Linked DNA regions of Homo sapiens: region 2 is linked to region 1. Evidence: promoter capture Hi-C in 16 types of primary human blood cells and fetal thymus (Javierre and others, 2016). All regions are on one chromosome and are shown on one strand. The core of a region is centred on a gene start or on the middle of the fragment in contact, and the rest is flanking DNA. Distances in the headings are between cores, read along the strand shown.

What was found. Contacts are between HindIII fragments. The CHiCAGO score rates a contact against its expected background, and 5 or more counts as called.
Region 2: the fragment with the promoter of SMARCC1 here is called in contact with the fragment with the promoter of CSPG5 in region 1 in 1 of 17 cell types (endothelial precursors); the score reaches 5.6 in endothelial precursors.

Annotation. Positions count from the first base shown.
Region 1 is chr3:47,577,474-47,580,215 of GRCh38, forward strand. CSPG5 (chondroitin sulfate proteoglycan 5) reads right to left here and starts at 1,392. Exons shown (of 5, transcript NM_006574.4): 1 at 1,124-1,392; 2 at 1-455. The coding sequence starts at 1,220. RefSeq lists silencers at 603-692, 743-802, 843-892 and an enhancer at 2,017-2,721. The HindIII fragment of the contact is 13,333 bases long and covers 1-2,742 here.
Region 2 is chr3:47,780,561-47,783,260 of GRCh38, forward strand. It overlaps SMARCC1 (SWI/SNF related BAF chromatin remodeling complex subunit C1), which reads right to left and starts at 1,333. Exons shown (of 28, transcript NM_003074.4): 1 at 1,043-1,333. The coding sequence starts at 1,237. RefSeq lists silencers at 807-1,046, 1,227-1,446, 1,857-1,906, 2,017-2,076 and an enhancer at 1,279-1,573. The HindIII fragment of the contact is 14,461 bases long and covers 1-2,700 here.

The DNA.
Region 1 (2,742 bases), core at 142-2,641:
GGGTGTGCTGCCCCCCAGGTTCAGCCAAACCTCCAAGGGGCTCTCCTTGGGGAGTTCAGAAGCTGGGCTCAGCTTGTCGCCGGGGGTGGGGGAGGGTGGCCCGCTGGCCTCTGTAGCCTCAGGAATGGCAGGGGGCATGATTGACTGCCCGAGGACCTCGTGGGGAGCCTGGAGCGTAGCTGGAAGGGCCTGGGCATCGCCGCTGCCCGCCTCTGCGGTCACTCCTCCCAGGCCTGGGCTGTCAGCTTCCAGCCAGGCGGTGCCGGTCACCGCAGCCGACTCCTGCAGCACCTCTTCTGGCCCGGCCAGCTCGCCACCGGGCGCCGTCCACGACGCCTCATCTTCCCCAGCCGCTGGTGGGCCGGCTTCTTCCCGCGTGTCGTTGGCAGGCGGCTCCCACGCCGGGCTGCCCTTCACCAGCTCTTCGGCCTCAACCGCGCTGCCCGCCTCACGCGCTGCGGGCGGGAGGGCAAGGGGCGGGACGTCAGGGCGGCGCGCTGAGGAGCCCTGGAGCCCCGGCCCGCCCCGGTCAGGCCCGCTCGCCTAGACCTGGTCAACCCAGACCTCGCCACCCTCAGACCCCACCGCCCCAGTGTGACCCCAGCCACCCGGTACCTCTAAGCCCCGTCCCGGAGTCTGCCCCCAAGACGAGGATCACACCCCGCCCAACGCCTCGCGGCTCGGCCCCGCCCGACCTGCCCCGCCGTCTGAAGAGCCAGGCCAGGGCGGCCCCCAGCTCGGCCCACCCATAAGTCTCACCCTCGGGAACCCACCCTGAGCCGCGTCCACTGGCTCCCGCCCTCAGCTCCAGGTCCCGCCCCGAAGTCTCACCCTCAGGCCCCGCCCCGGCCCCGCCCCGGCCCCGCCCCCGGCCCCGCCCCCAGTCCGCACCGCGGCCCGCGCGCTTGGGTCCCGGCTACCCCAACCGGGGTCGGCCCCCACGCGGGTCGGCCTTTCCCGGACCCCCACCACCTCCTGGGACCATTCCGCCGCCCGGCCGCGGCCAGGCGGTGCCCCGCCCCCTTGCCACAGCTCACAGCTCCACCTGTCCCCGCCGCCAGCGGGACCCCTGCCCTGGGTGGGGCACGAGGGCCGCGGGGGTCCCGGGCGCAGTCATACCTACCCGGCACGGCCCCAGAGGCCAGGACCAGCGCGGCCCCCAGAAACAGCAGCAGTGGCGGCGGCCCCCGGCCCGGGCCCCCGCCCCCGGCTCGCCCCATGGCGCGGCGCCCCGACCGCTGTCCGCGGTCCGCCCGGCTGGCTGCGCCCTCGGCTCGCCCGGCCGCCGCGCCTCCCGCCGGTTCTGCGGCCGCCTCAGCCCACGATGGGCAGCGCGAGGAGCCGCATGCCGCCGCCGCCGCCGTCCGCCGCTGTCCCCGGCGCGCCGCGCCTCCCCGCCTCCCGCGCCGCCGCTGCCGCCGCTGCGCTCAGCGCCGCCCTCACCCCGCCCGCCGCGCCGGCCCCGCCGCACGTAGCGGTGACGCCGGCCCCTTGGTCAGCCTGCCAGGGGAACAGACAGACCCCTCGCTGGGGACTAGGAGACACACGGACGGGGAGTGCGGGGCAGGCGGACGGGGAGCGCGAGGCAGGCGCACGGCGCGGCGCGCGGCGTTAGGCGGCAGGTGCACGGGCGGGAGACCTGTGGGATGGGGCCACGGTCCCGCCCCAGGTGAACAGGCGGCACGGGGCCCCGACCCGGAGGAACCCACCCGCCACGCGGCAAGCACGGAGGCGGGGACGTCGCGGGCCCAGTTACCCGCAGGGTCGGGGCGGGGTCCAGAAGAGCCGCAGGGGGCGGAAGCACGAGCCCCCACTGTGGAAACAAGCCAGGCCCGGGGCGCATGGAGCCTCTCGGATTCTGCACCAATCCCGTGTTCCGGGCGGGAAGGCTCTCAGGGAGGTCTCCGGGTCTCCACGAGGGAGGGGCGGGCGTTGGCAGAGCCTGGCAAGGGGGCGAAGCCGACCGCCCAGGCTCTAATCGGATCAGATCTAATCCGTTCGCAGCCAAAGCCACTAGCCTAGATCTCGCACAGCCAGGCCCGCCATAACGCATCCCGGGAGCAAGGGGTAAGACCCTCCCTGGGACTGCGGCTACCTCGCCTTCCTTCTAGTCTCCGGGCAGCCTGGGGAGCGGCCTTTAATCCTGGTCCCTTCTCCGGGATACGTCGTCCCCCAGGTGTCTCAGACCACCAAAACTCAGGTTCCTGGGTAGACCAGGGGGGTCTAGATCCCCAGCCGGGCACACATGGATGCTTGGCTTTAGAGTGATCTGTGGGGCCCATTCACAGCTTCAGGGCTCACAGGGCAACCCAAGACCACGCACCAGGAGGTCTGCTTAGTCGGCAGGAGGAACCGCAACCTAGTTACTTAGTTTATTCCCCCAAACCGACCGTCTACCCCTTAATGTGTTACTCACCCAAATGACAGTTCAGGGTATCAGCCCAAGGAGATAGGACAACTCCAGTATTTAAGAGACGGTCCCATTGCTGTCTTAGAAGACCAAATAAGTGACCAAGATGGAGATTCTATCTCCTAATCTTTCTGATACATATCTCCAGATGGAGTTGCCTTGGTTCAAAACCTGTTTCTCAGCAGAACTATGGCTGCAGCCTATTTGCCTAGCCTAGCGTCTCCACCTCTCCTGCCTGGTAAACTCCTCATGCCAGAAAAACTCAGTTCTTATCACCTTTCCCTCTATGAAGGCTTCTCAGCAGTTACACTTAATGCCCATCATCTCATCTT
Region 2 (2,700 bases), core at 83-2,582, 200 kb after region 1:
ATAGGTTCCTAAACTAGTTTATGTTTTCATTCATTCAACAAATATTTACTAAGCAGCCACTAAGGGTAAGGCAATAAGTATCAGCCACGTTCCCGGATACACTGCAGTGAACAAAGCCCTTGCTTCAGTGCTATGATTCTCAATAGGAGAAAGTACAGAACTAAAGAGGGTGATAGGAAAACTTCAGAGGCTGGGGAGCCTTTTCGGCTACCTGCTTCATTACACCCTTTAAGGGAGTCCTCCTGAATATTTACACAAAAGGGAAGTTGGAAAAAAAAAAAACATTTGTTATAAACAAAGGATTAAGTCAAAACTTTGAAAACTACTGACTCGGCGGAACTTCCGTTCCAAAGGTAGGAGAAATCAGTAAATGAATAATTTCAAAATGTGGTAAACACTACGAAGAAAATAAAGGTGACACAAGAAAAGTGCTCTAATAAAAACTGGGTTCTTGGGGAAGGCCTCCCTTTAGAACACTTTACGTACAAGCGACCATCAACTCTCACGCCACACAGAACCAGAAGCACGATGAGGTAGAACCGTCGTTAATAGTTCTCATCCATCCTAGAATTCATATTGCCTGTTATTAATTAACGAATACAATCATCCCAGTCGTTTAGCAATTCAACAACAGGTAGCAAACCCCCTCGAGACTTTGAATACGCTCTAAACAAAACTTGAAGCTGCTTTTACCACGCTTGCTCGGTCTTTAGGGATCATTGTTCACACACCTAAGGCAGCTGACAAAAGAGAGAGAGTCACACTCGCTTAGTGGCTGAGCTCGACCTGCTCTGGCACACGAGACTGAGCAGGGGCTTTCACCATGGGTGCGTAGGCTCAGAGGAGAGAGCCCCGAACCCCAGTCAGGCCCCGGGATCGCGGGCGCCCAGAGCGGGCGGCGGGGGCGTGGCGGGCCCGGCGCCTGCCTTTGTTGTCCCTCGTGGCGTGCGGGGGGGAGGGGCGGCCCGAGGCCCGCGAGGCCAGCTGCCGCCTCCGGCCCCGGTCGCGTGGTCTCCCGGCCCCCACGGGCGCGCGAACCCACCTTCTTGTAGTGCTTGCCCAGCCAGACCCGCACCGAATCCAGCTGGGACACCGTCTCCGGGCTCTCCCAAAACTTGGTGGCCGGGCCCCCATCCTTCCGTCGATAAACAGCTAGGCCTGCGGCTGCCGCCGCAATCCCCGAGCCCGTGGCGCCTACCGCTGTCCCCGGCCCGCCGCCGCCCGCCGCTGCGGCCATCGTCGCAGCCCGTCGTCCCCACAGCCTGGCCCACCCCGGCCCTCGCGGTGTTTCCCGGTCGTTCCCGCGCGCACCCCCGCGCGCGTAGCCGCCACTGCCGCTTCCCGGCCCCGCCCAGCCAACCCTCTTCCGGCGCGGACGCCCGGCCCCGCCCCATCTGGGAACTGGCACTGTATCTGACGCGAGCCAGCGCACGCGCATGCGTAGCACTCGTGCGGCCGTGCCTTGGAATAGCACGTCCTGCGGCCTCAGCCGCCTCTTCCGCCATCCTCCGTAGGCTGCATTCTGCCCTAGTGAGCGCCGGTTTTTGAGCCTTGCTCTTCCCTCGCTACCGACGTCGAATCATTATGCGGTCAACAACCGCAGGTGGGTTATGTGTCATAGCCCGCCTCCGCTGGAGGGAAAAGGCCTGGTGCGAGAAATGCCCAAGGGAAAGCCTGTCTAGGGTATCGAGTGCTGGCCGAGGGCCCTGCACCCGGACTGGGACTGCGCCGGGCCCCGCTTTCCCTCAGGCCCTCCACCCCCAGCGGCCCGGCGGCATTTGTGAACAGCCATCTGGGACTCCCACGCCTAGGCTTTTCGGCTTCACAGACCTTCCACTCCCTCAGGGGTCCAGCCACAGCGGCTCATTCCTGCCCCAGGGGCCCTTGCACTGGCTCTTTCGAGACCTCAGCAGGTCTTCCCTTCTGATTTGCACTTACGAGACGCGTTCAGATTCACTGCTTCAAAGGACTTCAGAAAGTAGTTGTCAGATCTTAACAATCTTGAACAACTGTTCACACCCATACACTTTCTGCATAGCGCTCACCACGACCCGGCGTTTCTAGTTTCTCATTTACCTTCCACATAAATTACATGAGAACCTAATCTTAACTTGTTCACAGGTGTATCCTGAACACCTGAGACAAGGAACAGATGTACAGTAAATACTTGATGAGTTAATGAATGGCCCACATAGAAGCCGAAAATTTTTAAATTATTAACAAGGTATATTGGCCGGGTGCGGAGCACTTTGGGAGGCTGAGGCGGGAGGATCAATTGAGCCCAGGAGCTCTAGACCACCACACCCATCCCCGTCTCTACAAAAAATACAAAAATCAGCCAGCGTTGTGTTGCAAGCCTGTGGTCCTAGCCTCTTGGAGGGCTGAGGTGGGAGGATCCCTTGAGCTGGGGAGATGGAGGCTGCAGTGAGCTATAATCGCGCCACTCACTACACTTCAGCTTGGGCGACAGAGCGAAACCCTGTTTCAGAAACATAAAAAGTATGACTGGCCATAATGGAGTTGTGAACATAATGCTATATGATCGCAGAGAAGCAAGTAACTAATTGCTTGTGAGAACGTGACTAACTGCTGGTAAGTTTCTGAGATCTTTTAAAAATGAGGGTGTGTACATGTTTTCAGGATCTCCTGAGGGCTGTGTCACGGACAGTAAAATATATTAAATAAAAAAGTTAATAGAAT